3 separate regions of the Homo sapiens genome follow, and regions 1 and 2 are each linked to region 3. The links are contacts of gene promoters, found by promoter capture Hi-C in human tissues and cell types (Jung and others, 2019). All regions are on one chromosome and are shown on one strand. The core of a region is centred on a gene start or on the middle of the fragment in contact, and the rest is flanking DNA. Distances in the headings are between cores, read along the strand shown.

Region 1 (4,545 bases), core at 639-3,138, 430 kb after region 3:
ACAAAAGAAGGGAAATCCACCTCCATGATCCAGTCACCTCCTATCAGGTTCCCTCCTCAACACGGGGAATTAAAATTCGATATGAGATTTGGGTGGGGAGGATGCAGAGCAAAACCATTTGGTGGTGATACCAAATTGCTCAGTGATACTGAGCAATTCCGGCTGAGATACAGCACTATGTTTCTCCCAAGCCCTGTAACTAACAGGGAGAGGCTTGAATATGCTGTGATGGAAAGATAGGGAAAAGCTGCAGACACAGTCCCAGAGCCAGGACTGAGATAAGGATGCCGTTTTTAACCTGGGCACATAAAAAGTCAGCCATTCTTTGGCTACCCAGCAGCATGGCCACACAAACAATATATTCTCAGGCCAGAGATTGGAGCACCCACTCTGAAGTGGAATAGGAGCTCCCACAGCCAGAACTGAGGAAGGCATTTCAGCATTAGGCATTAGAATTATGCTGTCCCTCATTGCAAGCGTAGAGGTGGCAGAGAAATACTACAGCAGCAGTTTCTCCTGAGAGGTGAGACTTGCAGCTAGGGACAGCTTGGAAACTTGGAACCGGTCTGTGTGTGCCATTGCTGGGCACCCTCAGCCTGCTCCCCTGAGATTGTGGTGCAGTAGAGCCCTCTGTGCTCCACCCCCAGGCAGAAATCCAGGCATTTGTAGCACCCACTTCCCTAGGCCAGCAGTGTAAGCTGCCTCAATCTCCATGGACATAGATCATGGTGAATTAGGGCTCTCTCTGCTCCACATCCAGGCATTCAGAGCATCTTCTCACCTAGATCAGCAGCTTGACCCACCCTACCCTTCTTGGGCAGAGTTCCTGGTGCAGGGACGCCCACTCTGCTTCATGCTTAAGCAGATCTCTAGGTATTTGGAGCATTTTGTCTATTCAGCAGCCTGAGCTACCCCACCCTTCCTGGATATAGATCATGGTGCACCTGAGCTTTCTCTGATGTATGCCCAGGCAGATCTCCAGGTATTCAGAGCACCTGCTTGCCCACCCTGTTAGTCTGAGTCACCCCACCCCTCCTGTGCAGACATCTTGGTGTAGTGGGGGCTCTCTCTGCTCCACGCTCAAATAGATCTCCAAGCATCTGGAGCACCTACTTTCCCAGATTAGGAGTTTAGGCCCTCTCCCATCCCCATGCAGAGAACTTGAAGAGCTAAGTAAGCTTCCCAGCTCCATGCCTAGGCACTCCTCTGGGTACTTGGTGGCTGCCTGCTGGATTCTCCCTTGGCACTGATGCTCATGCCTGCCATCAGGGATCTGTAGGTGGACCCCCCAGTCCAGCCCTGCCCATCGTGGCCCCCACCCACCAGTGGCTGAACATGGAGCTCAGACCACTGTGCCTTCCATGAATCAGCCCATTGACTAAGGAAACAGCTTCTGCCAGTAAACAAGGATCATGTATATACCCAGCCATGTTGGCCACAGATTACTTACTTATAAGTACCTTCTACTGGCTTGTAGGTCAAACAGCACAGCCCAATATAAAACCCACTAAAAAAGAGTGCTTACGGCTATTGAAGCAAAGCCAAAAGACTGTATCCAGCATTCTCTACAGTCACATTCCCTAGGGAATGGGGGGAAAAGAAAAAGGAAGGGAAACATAATAGGGAAAGAAAGAAAAAGAAAAAAATCTACCTATATAAAAATAACTACAAAAATTAGAAGTGCAAGTCTCTCCAGATGATAAGGAACCAGCACAGGAATTCTGGCACCATGAAAAATCTGAATGTGGAGACAACACAAAAAGATCACACTAATTGGTCCAGCAAGGGTCCCTAACCAAAATGGAAATTCAGAAACTACAGATAAAGAATTCAAAGCACGGATTGCAAGGAAGGTCTATGAGATCCAAGGCAAAGTTGAATATCAACACAAAGAAACTGCTAAGCAATCCAGGAAATGAAGAAAGAGACATCTTAAAAATAAATCAACCAGAGCTTCTGGAACTGAAAAACTCAATGAATTTTGAAATACAATTGAAAGCTTTAGCAATAGACTGAATCAATCAGAGGAAAGAATTTCAGAGCTTGAAGACCAGTCTTTCAAACTAAACCAGTCAGACCAAAAAAAAAAAAAAAAAAAGGAATTAAAACAACCAACCAAATTCTTCAAGATACATGGTATTATGTAAAGCAACCAAAAGCTATGAATTACTGGCATTCCTGAGAAAGAAGGAGGAAAAGTAAACAACTTGGAAAACATATTGAGGGAATAATTCAAGAAAAATTTTCTAATCTTGCTAGAGAGGTAGACATCCAGGTACAAGAAATCTAGAGAACACCTGGGAGAAACTATACAAAACTAACTCCACCAGGGCATATAGTCACCAGACTGTCCAAGGTCAATGCTAAAGAAAAAATCTTGAAGGCAGCTAGAGAAATAGGTCAGATCATGTGCAAAGGGAACCCTATCAGGCTAACAGTGGACTTCTCAGCAGAAACTTTACAAGCCAGAAGAAATTAGGGGCCTATTTTTAGCATTCTTAAAAAAAATAAATTTCAACCAAAAATTTCTTATCTCGGGTTGTTCCAAGATGGCCGTATAGGAACAGCTCCGGTCTGCAGCTCCCAGCAGGATTGATGCAGAAGAAGGGTGATTTCTGCATTTCCAACTGAAGTACCTGATTAATCTCATTGGGACTGGTTGGACAGTGGGTACAGCCCACAGAGGGTGAGCCGAAGCAGGGCGGGGCATCGCCTCACCTGGGAAGTGCAAGAGGTCAGGCGATTTCCCTTTCCTAGCCAAGGGAAGCCATGACAGACTACCTGGAAAAACAGGACACTCCTGCTCAAATACTGTGCTCTTCCCAAGGTCTTAGCAACTGGCAAACAAGGTGATTCTCTCCTGTGCCTGGCTTGGTGGCTCCCATGCCCACGGAGCCTTGCTCACTGCTAGTGCAACAGTCTGAGATCCATCTGCTAGATGGCAGCCTGGCTGGGGGAGGGGCTTCTGCTATTGCTGAGGCTTGAGTAGGTAAACAAAGCAGCCGGGAAGCTTGAACTGGGTGGAGCCCACTGCAGCTCAACAAGGCCTACTGCCTCTGGACTCCACCTCTGTGGGCAGGGCATAGCTGAACAAAAGGCAGCAGACAACTTCTGCAGACTTAAACATCCCTGTCTGACAGCTCTGAAGAGAGAAGTGGTTCTCCCAGCATGGCGTTTGAGCTCTGAGAATGGACAGACTGCCTCCTCAAGTGGGTCCCTGATGCCCGTGAAATGGAACTGGGAGACACCTCCCAGTAGGGGTCGACAAACACCTCATATAGGCAGCTGCCCCTCTGGGACGAAGCTTCCAGAGGAAGGATCAGGCAGCAATATTTGCTGTTCTGCAATATTTGCTGTTCTGCAGCCTCCACTGGTGATACCCAGGCAAACAGGGTCTGGAGTAGAACTCCAGCAAATTCCAACAGACCTGCAGCTGAGGGACCTGACTGTTAGAAGGAAAACTAACAAACAGAAATGAATAGCATCAACATCACCAAAAGGTCATCTACACCAAAACCCCATCTGTAGGTCACCAACATTAAAGACCAAAGGTGGATAAAACCACAAAGATGGGGAGAAACAAGAGCAGAAGCGCTGAAAATTCTAAAAATCAGAGTGCCTCTTCTTCTCCAAAGGATTGCAGCTCCTCACCAGCAACGGAACAAAGCTGGATAGAGAATGACTTTGACGAGTTGACAGAAGTAGGCTTTAGAAGATTGGTCATAACAAACTTCTCTGAGCTAAAGGAGGATGTTCGAATTCATTGCAAGGAAGTTAAAACCGTGAAAAACGGTTAGACAAATGGCTCACTAGAATAAACAGTGTAGAGAAGACCTTAAATGACCTGATGGAGCTGAAAACCATGGCACAAAAACTTCATGACGCATGCACAAGCTTCAATAGCCAATTTGATCAAGTGGAAGAAAGCATATCAGTGATTGAAGATCAAATTGATGAAATAAAGTGAGAAAACAAGGTTACAGAAAAAAGACTAAAAAGAAATGAACAATGCCTCCAAGAAATATGGGACTATATGAAAAGACCAAATCTATGTTTGATTCGTGTACCTGAAAGTGATGGGGAGAATGGAACCAAGTTGGAAAACACTTTTCAGGACATTATCTGGGAGAACTTCCCCAACCTAGCAAGGCAGGACAACAGGCAAATTCAGGAAATACAGAGAACACCACAAAGATACTCCTAAGAAGAGCAACCCCAAGACACATAATCGTCAGATTCACCAAGGTTGAAATGAAGGAAAAAATGTTAAGAGCAGCCAGAGAGAAAGGTCGAGTTACCTGCAAAGGGAAGCCCATCAGACTAACAGTGGATCTCTCAGCAGAAACCCTACAAGCCAGAAAAGAGTGGGGGCCATTAATAAATGGTACTGGGAAAACTGGCTAGCCATATGCAGAAACTGAAACTGGATCCCTTCCTTACACCTTATACAAAAATTAATTCAGGATGGGTTAAAGACTTAAATGTTAGACCTAAAACCATAAAAACCATAGAAGAAAACCTACGCAATACCATTCAGGACATAGG
Region 2 (4,327 bases), core at 1,020-3,519, 260 kb after region 3:
TATATTTAATTATATTAAATTGTTTACAGAAGGTGTCACATATTTCTTTTTCTTATTTAGAACATACTAAACAACTTGTATCATTTATTATTAACTATTACTAATATGAAATACTTTATAATACAATAATATTTACACATTTAGGACCTACTGAATTGGATAGGGTTCTTTGTTCTACCTAAGTGATTTCCAGGTAACTATTAATTTTGAGTTTCAGTTACTTATTATCTATTACCATATAATGAACTACCCCAAAACTTACTGGCTTTAAAACAGTGACAGTTTTATTTGCTCATGATTCTGTGAGTCAGTAATTTGGTCAGGGCTTAGCTGGACAGCTCTTCTGCTGGTATCTCTTGGGATTAGTCATGCAGCTATAGTTGTTTGGGACCTTGACTGGGGCTGCCTGGTCTTAACATGGTGTCACCTGTTAAGTTGGTCATCGGCTTCTCTGTCATTGTTGCCTCTCATCCTCAAGTTGGCTAGTTCATATTTATGTAATGCCCTCAAGGTTCCAAGAGAGGAAAGTGGGGCACTGGACTTGGAAGTTACACAGAGCTACTTTTGCCATATTCTGTTGGTCAAAGTGAGTGATAAGGGCTAACCCAGGAAGGATGGGGAACTTACCTCTCTATCTCTGTCTCTAGGAGTGGAACAGCAAGTCAAATGGCAAGGGAAGTATGCATACAGGGATGGGAGAAATTGTTGTGGCCAACTTTGTAAACAGTGTATCATTCTTATTGATGCTTTACTTTTCCTTTGCTTTCAACTATAACTTCATTGTTATTTATATGTTTCCCTCTAGTATCTCCTGTTTTCCCTCTCCCTTCTATGCTGAATTTCCTGCTATCTAATAGCCTCCTCTTAACCATAGTGTCAATAGTTTTGCTTTTCCTGGTTTTAGTTACCTGTGGTACAGTACAAGAAGATGAGAGAGAAAGAGAGAGAGACCATTCATGTAACTTTTATTATAGTATATTGTAACTGTTCTATTTTTTATTATTGTAATTTCTTACTGTTCCTAATTTATAAATTAAACTTTATCACAGGTATGTATGTATAGGAAGAAACATAGTGTATATAGGGTTTGGCATTATAAGTAGTTTCAGACATCCACTGGGGGTCTTGGAATGGATCCCCTGCGGATAAGGGGGGACTACAGTCTTTTTGAAAATCCCTTAGCTTGTATTGCCAACATGATATGTAAACTAAGAACAGACTTACCTTGAGAGTAGACCTAAGATATTCTACTACAAGTTAAGTGCATGGTGGGTGTGAATTTCTCTCTCCTGCCTCTGAACCTTTTTTTTTTCTTTTGAGAAGCAAGTGCAGGGGAGAGGGTACAGTGGCTTACTCTACCCTGTTGTTTGACTATGTGTTGACGTAGTGTTTTCCAAGATATTCTTCATGTATTCCCAGAGTTTTGCAGAGCCTACCAGGAACTACTATGTAACACAGTATGAGAGGCAAATCAGGACTTTAGGGTACCTTATCCTACCTCAGGCAGAGCATTTCTGCATTCATTTGTTTTACTAAAAGTTTTGCAGGTCTGGTTTTGTTTGAGCAAAGAGTTTCTTTGCTTAAAAAACAAAACTTTAAAACTACTATTTAGATAATTGGACTTGTTGGCTGAGTTTTGGATATGTGATGTTAATTATACAGTTAAACCATAAGCACTTTAAGGTTTTATAAAAATATATTTGCCTTAAGCCATTTCTAAAATATATTTTCCAATTGAGGGATTTAAATGCTTTGATTTGATCAATTACTTTAAAATGATGCTTTAAAAACACATTTTAGAACACAGCAATCCAAAATTTAGAGCATCAATTACACAAGAAGTAAAATTGTACAAAATTAAGGGCTTATTTACATCTAAGTAAGTAGTGTATGTAATAAAATAGCATAATAAAAAGGCTCTGAGTATATTGATGGAGGCATATCATTTGGTCCAACAATGAGGGAATAGGTCTTTTTAAAAACTAACAACTTAATCTTTATCAGAAATTGCCTGTTTAAATGAAAGGTAAATAATTTGAAAAGAAAAATGTAATAAATAAGAGGGTATGTTTTTGAGAATATAAAAGTTTAAATATTAAAGTGTTTATAAATATTGCTATAAATGCATGTGTGATCCAGGGCTGAGCTCATCTGGAATCGGGAGGTAGACCAATTTCTCTATATCCCATGAATGGCTTGGGCAACTCCTTGACCATTGGGTATACAGAATGTTAATTGATGTTGTTTGTGTGTCTCTTGTAGTTCTCTTGACCTACAAAGAATCAAGGTGTAGAAGTTATATATTTGAAGGGCTGGGTTTGTGGAAAAATGATCAGTGTTTTATAAATCTAGGAATTATGAATATAATTTAGAGAAAGGCAAATTTCAGTACAATAATGAGAACTGACCAAAAATGGATTTCAAATAGAACTGTTCTAAAAAGGGATTTGGGGCCGGGTGCGGTGGCTCCTGCCTGTAATCTCAGCACTTTGGGAGGCTGAGGTGGGCAGATCACCTGAGGATGGGAGTTCAAGATCAGCGTTACCAACATAGAGAAACCCCGTCTCTGCTAAATATGCAAAGTTAGTTCGGCGTGGCGGCTCATGCCTGTAATCCCAGCTACTCGGGAGCCTGAGGCAGGAGAATCGCTTGAACCAGGGAGGTGGAGGTTGCGTGAGTCGAGATCGTGCCATTGCACTCCAGCCTGGGCAACAAGAGTGAAACTCTGTCTCAAAAAAAAAAAAAGAAGGTTGGGGTGGTGGGTTTGGTTGCCTGGTAAAGTTGAGAATTTCCTATTCTAGGAGATGTTTAAACAAAAGCTAGACAGTGATCTTTTAGGATCATTGCAGAGGGGATTCATGTCATGGAGAAGAGGATGGATTAGATAGTTCTCAGGCCTTTTTCAGTGCTTAAGATTGTATGAGTGTTCCAAGTCTTTAAGCTTCTTCTAGGGCAGTAATTCCAACTGGGGGCAATTTTGTACATCTTCCTAAAGACATTTGGCTATGTTTGGAGGCATTTTTAGTTGTCGTCATTGGTGGGGATGGCAGAGGGGTGCTGTCTAGGTAAAGGCCAGCGATGCTACTAAACATCCTATAATACAAGACAGCCCTTCTTCCCTGCCATGAGCCCCACCCAGACAACAAATAATTTATCCACCCCCAAATCTCACTAGTGTCAGTGTTAAAAAACTCTAGGGATTTAACTTAGAAGTGGGCCCTTTGATCTTTAAAACTTATCTGGGCCTGAAGTTATTAGGCCAGATAATACTGGCCTTTGGCAAAGGTATGAAGTAGGAAACACTTACTTTGAACAGATTCTTGCCATATTTGTAACATCATCACTTCCATTGCCCTCATGCTCTGTACCACCCCTCTAGACCTATCCTCACTAATGATTCTTGGTCTCATCAGGCTTAGCTCCCTTGGGCTCTATTTCTTTAACATCTACTATCTGTTACCTAGATAATCTGAAAAATGAATATACCAGCTGATATTGCTTTAGTAGTTTTTCCTTATGGTGATAATGCCTAAATCCCCTTTTCTGTCACAGTGATTCATGGTAATCCTGTTGGAGCCATTCATGATTCCAAGCCGTCAACTCACAGGGCTATAAAAATGTGCTGTAGGCTGGGCGCGGTGGCTCATGCCTGTAATCCCAGCACTTTAGAAGGCCGAGGCAGGTGGATCACTTGGGGTCAGGAGTTCGAGATCAGCCCGGCCAATATGGTGAAACCCCGTCTCTACTAAAAATACAAAAATTAGCCAGGCATGGTGGTGCACACCTGTGATCCCAGCTATTCGGGAGGCTAAGGCAGGAGAATCGCTTGAACCCAGGAGGCAGAGGTTGCAGTGAGCTCTGATCACGCCACTGCACTCCAGCCTGGGTGACAGAGTGAGACTCTGTCTCAAAAAACTGTGCCGTAAAATTTACAAGTTGTCATTCACATAAAACATATATGCATACTTTATTAAAGCAAGACAATATGATTCTTGTCTAATATCTATTCAAAATTATTTAAATAAAATTAAAACATTAGAAATATTTACATGCATTTATATGTAGCTAATTAGAGCTAACAACTCAGAGGTAGATTAGAATTTCAATAGAAGCAGTTTGAGTACTGGAAATTATCAATACTGAGAATGGTCTACAATCATCTGGGTAGAAATCACCTAAATTTTGGAGGTCGTATTATTAATCTACCAAGGCTACCGTAACAAAATACTACAGACTAGATGGCTTATTCAATAGAAATTTGTTTTCTCAAAGTTCTGGAGGCTACAAGTCTAAGATCAAGGTGCTGTCAGGGTTGGTTTCTGGTGAG
Region 3 (4,632 bases), core at 1,069-3,568:
TCAATGAATAATAATGAAGCACAATAGGAAAATGTAAATGTTAAGTCGCTGAAACTGCAGTACCAGCAGGGGAGAGTCCAGTTGCTGTCCTCAATTCCTCCAGCATTGATAAACAGTCTGCTTGGCTCCTTACAGATGTTGTCTATGAAGTCTAGAGTTACAAGTAACTATTTTCCAGCATGTAAAGGGATCCAGTCTTGTCCTTCAAAACAGCTTGGCCGCTTTCCCCAGGATACATGTAATTAAAAATATATATCCCTGCAAAAGCTGTTTCTCCAACAAATTGCCACTGATGTCAGGATATGTGCTGTTTCCAAACTGAGAGCTGGAGGATCATTTCTTAAGCTTTTATAACCTAGTTCTAAAGTTCTGAAACTTCCAAAGGGATATTTTAGCAGCAACAGGTCTAATCCCCACCATCTTTCCAAAACCACAAACCAAGTTTTAAAATGACCTATGTAAAAACATGCACCTAGTAAGTAAGCTGTATGTCTGTTTATTATCTCTCAGAAGTTACAGCCAGAACCACAGATTTCTTTTCTTTTCTTTTTTTTTTTGATACGGAGTTTCGCTCCTGTGGCCCAGGCTAGAGTGCAATGGTGCAATCCCCGCTCACTGCAACCTCTGCCTCCTGGGTTCAAGCGATTCTCCTGCCTCAGCCTCCTGAGTAGCTGGGATTACAGGCGCACGCCACCACGCCCGGCTAATTTTTGTACTTTTAGTAGAGACAGGATTTCGCCATGTTGGTCAGGCTGGTCTCGAACTCCTAACCTCGTGAGCCACCTGCCTCGGCCTCCCAAAGTGCTGGGATTACAGGCGTGAGCCACTGCGCCCGGCCAGAAACCAGATTTCTGAAGCCTGGACAACTAACGTCTACTTTTTCCCACAACTTCTCTCTTTTCTAAATTTCTAAAAATCACCCAGCCTCACCAACCCAAACATAACCAATGTTAACACTTTAAAAATTTTCCTGTCAGTCTTTTATTATCCCAATAAATTTTTTATTTTGCAGGATTATAATCACCCTGTATATGCAAATTCTTATTACTGTGGAATAAACATTTTCTCTATCATTAGATATGCTTTACATTTTTTAATGACTGCAAAAAAATTTCTTCCAATATACCAACCACCTTCCTGCAGCTTCTTCTCACCCTCCAAGCATTAAACGTGCCTTCAACTGTGAGGATAAGAAAGAACTCAAGCCAACCCAACCACTCCTTCATGCATGACCTCTAAAACGCTGCGGGACGTCGTGAGAAGGGGCTATTCAGCAGAAAAAGGTGCAGTAGTGTTTCATTTAATAACACCCCAAAAATAGTGGGGAGAAGGAAGTTCGGTGAAGGATGGTCTCCTTATCACTCCCTCCAAGTCTTAGCTGCAGCTGGCTCCCTCCCACTCGCCCACCGAGCAGTGGCGGCCAGAATCCTTGGCAGAGATAACCCTCAGCTCCACTGGGGTTAGGGGTCTGGGCCAGACATGGGTGGGCAAGAGAGAAAAACGGAAGGGCGGGGTGTAAGAGTGGGTTCTTTCCCAGGCCAGATGACTTACACAACGTTTTGGCTTCCAGTCCCTGAGAAAGTGGGGGTGGGGATGGAAATCACTTTTCCAGGAGAGCTGTCTCCTTCGGGCTAGGATGATCAACTTGGCATGGGCTCTGCAAAGTTAGTTTGGAGCGTCCCTCCCCAAGGGGTCCCGCCAGGGGTGGGGGTGGGGGCGCCCACCTGCAGCTGGCTGGAGCAGCCGTACTGGATGAGCGGTGTGAAAGTTGTCAGCTGCAGCTCGGCGTCCGTCTGCAGCTCGTGCCCAACCAGGTTGGGCATCTTGGTCACGTTGTAGCCGAGGTTCTGGCACATGGAGATGCGGATGGGGTCGCAGCGCCGCTCTTCCTCGTCCCCGAAGCCCCGCGCCGGCCCCAGGAGCAGCAGCAACTGCAGGAGCAACCCCAGACTGAGACCGACGCCCCCGGGCGCCCCCGGGACGCTCGGCCCTGCGCCCCGCCAGGCCATGGCCAGCATCGGGGGTAGCAGCGGCAGCGGCTGGGGCTGCTCTGGCAGACACCCCCAGTTTGCACGGGGGCGCCGGCTGCCCGCGCTGCTCCCAGCTCCCGGGACGGGAGTGTGATGCGGCGACGAGGGGGCAGCGGCCGGCTCTCCAGCAGCTGCGCGCGACTGTGTGGGATTTTAGACGTCCCGGGCCGAGGCCGAGGGACAGGCTGCGAGGGTCATGGCTGCAGGCGGCGAGCCCACAAGCCGGCGCCGGCCGCGTCCGTTCGGCGTCTCCGCGAGGCCAGCCAGCAGCCAGCGCTGCGCAGCTCTCACCGCCGGAGCCCTGCGCGGCGCTGGAGGCTCGCGGCGCGGCGGCGGGGCGGGACGGACAGCGGGCCTCTCCAATGGCCGGGCGCGGTGGGCAGCTAGGGGCGAGGCGGCGGGGCGGGGCCGCTCTCCCGCAGGAGGAGTCAGGCCCCCGCCCTCCGGCCCCCTCCTCCGGCCGCCCCTCCCTCCCTCCCTCCCCTAGCGCCCCGCCCCGCCCGCCTCCCGGCTCTTGCTTTCCTCCCACCCGGATCTAGGCGCGCAGGGGCCAAGCAGGGACGCAGCCCAGTGGCTCCAGCCACGCCGTCCTGCCCCCTTCTGCAGGTGAGAAGTGCGCCCTGTTCCATCTGCCCCCTTTCCTTCCTGTCTCCTTTCAGCTGTAACCTAGGCCGGTGGCCACCTCCCCGTCAGGCAGAGAAACGTACACAAAGAATTGGGGATTTGGATTTACACCGATTGTGGCTTTCAGTCCCGGTTGTGTGACCTTGAGCAAATTGCTCAACCCCTCGGCGTCAGTCTCCTCTGTAAAGTCACTTGGGAGGATTAGAGATAAAGTGTAGAAGGCTTAGCATGGTGCCTGGTACTGCGTGAGTCCACAGCTATTTTCACTCCGGACCAGCGGCGATCGGGGCCCGGCCTCTCCCCGCCCCCAGACTCGCCCGACCTGCGCAGGGAGCCGCCCACCTCCAGCCGCCAGCGGGGAGGCGCCCCAGAGCTGCGGAGCTGCAGACCCGCCGACGGTCTCGCGCTCTGATTTCCTCACCGTATGAAATGAAATTCCACAGGGGGATTCGAAAGGAAATGAGACCGGGACTCTCCGTGCTTCTCGGCCCGCCGCCCTTCCTGTCTCGGGGACACGGTTTCTAAATAAGGTTGGGAGGGTGAGAGGGCGGGAGGGGAGAGGCTTGACCTGTGCACTGGGGACGAGGAAGGCGCACAACCACCGTGACTCCTCTCTCCCGGCCTCCCGGGCACCCCCTCCCCACCAGGCTGCACCCCTTTTTTTCTTTGCTTCTGCTTCGGCTCCTAGGGATCTGGGGATCATGTGACCCAGGTTTGAACCCAACTTTCCTGTCTCATTACCAGCCCCCCGCGGCTTTGTGCTGGTCCACCCTCTCTCTGCTTTCCAGTCGGCCAGTAAACTCCCAGCAGGTGGATTCCTCCACCGTTTACTTGTTGCTTGACTGTGTTGAAGCTATGGTGCCTCTCTGAGCCTCAAAGTGGCCGGCTGTAAAGTGGGGAAGTTCATATCCACCTCACACAGTTGTTCTAAGAGTTCAGTGAGATAATACCTGTAAATCATTTAGCAGTGTCTGACACATAATAAATGCTGAAGAACTTGGTGATTGGGGTGTGTGTGTGTGTGTGTGTGTGTGTGTGTGTGTGTGTATGTGTTTCCAAAACAGCTAGGGGAGATCAATTATGGGACAGCCTCCTGCTTTCCAGCCTGGTGCTAAAGACAGCTCCAGCAGCCCCGGAATGAGGATCTGGGTAAAAGGCTTTTCACCCTCTTCCTGAGATCTTTTTGTCCAACACTTGCCACTGTTTTATGCATGTTTTTATCCTCCCATTTCAGCCAATTCTGTGGCATATGGCAGAGGCTAGATGCAAGTTGGAAGAATGTCTGTGCCACTCATGTGACACTCATATTCTGTCTTGTATTTTTAGTCTTCTTATATTGGCAACGAGACTTGACTGAGGGCAAAAATGGAATCAACTTTTTTTTGGTATTTGGCTCTGTGCCTAGAACTGTGTTGGACACGGAGAAGCTGCATTGTCTCCAGTCATCATCATAAACTCCCAGTGAAGGAGGTTCCGTTAGCTCCTTATAGAGATTAGGAAACTGAGGCTAGAACCACAGTAATAGAAAATGACAAGACCAACCAAACCAGGGCCCAGAAGAGGCTCTTCAAAGATGGAAGGCAGGGCTATTTTCCCAGAAAAAATTCCCAGCTGGAAATCAATGTACTCAGCAATAGGATTGAATCTCTGTGTGCCTGTGCTGAGTAATGCATAAAACCCTTGGCCTACAGAGATGAATAAACGATCAGATGTAGAGATCAAATGATCTATTAATCATTTGGGTTACAGAGATGAATATATAATCAGATGAACAGATCAAATGAATAGATAATCCTCATCCTTTAGGATCTCACAGGAGGAGACAAAGGATTAACAAACAACAATAACTTAGTTTGCTAAGTGCACAGATAGAGAATTGTGGGTGAATTGAAGGTAGAAGTGGCTGAGTCTGGAGGGCTACTCAAAGGGGGATGACCTGCAAGACTCGTAGCTACTCAACAAAGTGTAGTTAGTATGC

The links. Contacts are between HindIII fragments. The study calls those that stand out against the background at their distance.
Region 1: a fragment that was not itself captured here is called in contact with the fragment with the promoter of FZD4 in region 3 in 2 of the 25 tissues and cell types used here (mesendoderm cells and thymus).
Region 2: a contact is called between a fragment that was not itself captured here and the fragment with the promoter of FZD4 in region 3, in 4 of the 25 tissues and cell types used here (IMR-90 fibroblasts, aorta, mesendoderm cells and 1 more).

What each region holds. Positions count from the first base shown.
Region 1 is chr11:87,383,986-87,388,530 of GRCh38, forward strand. All of the region lies in intron 2 of LOC107984361 (a long non-coding RNA gene), which reads left to right. Among named protein-coding and RNA genes, the nearest start is that of LINC02711, 330 kb to the right of the region's middle. The HindIII fragment of the contact is 3,422 bases long and covers 178-3,599 here.
Region 2 is chr11:87,215,053-87,219,379 of GRCh38, forward strand. The region is part of intron 5 of TMEM135 (transmembrane protein 135); the gene reads left to right. Among named protein-coding and RNA genes, the nearest start is that of TMEM135, 180 kb to the left of the region's middle. The HindIII fragment of the contact is 6,422 bases long and covers 1-4,327 here.
Region 3 is chr11:86,953,077-86,957,708 of GRCh38, forward strand. FZD4 (frizzled class receptor 4) reads right to left here and starts at 2,319. Exons shown (of 2, transcript NM_012193.4): 1 at 1,725-2,319. The coding sequence starts at 2,009. It overlaps FZD4-DT (FZD4 divergent transcript), which reads left to right and starts at 2,545. Exons shown (of 3, transcript NR_038905.1): 1 at 2,545-2,636. RefSeq lists silencers at 1,997-2,046, 2,177-2,546, 2,897-3,046. The HindIII fragment of the contact is 8,131 bases long and covers 1-4,632 here.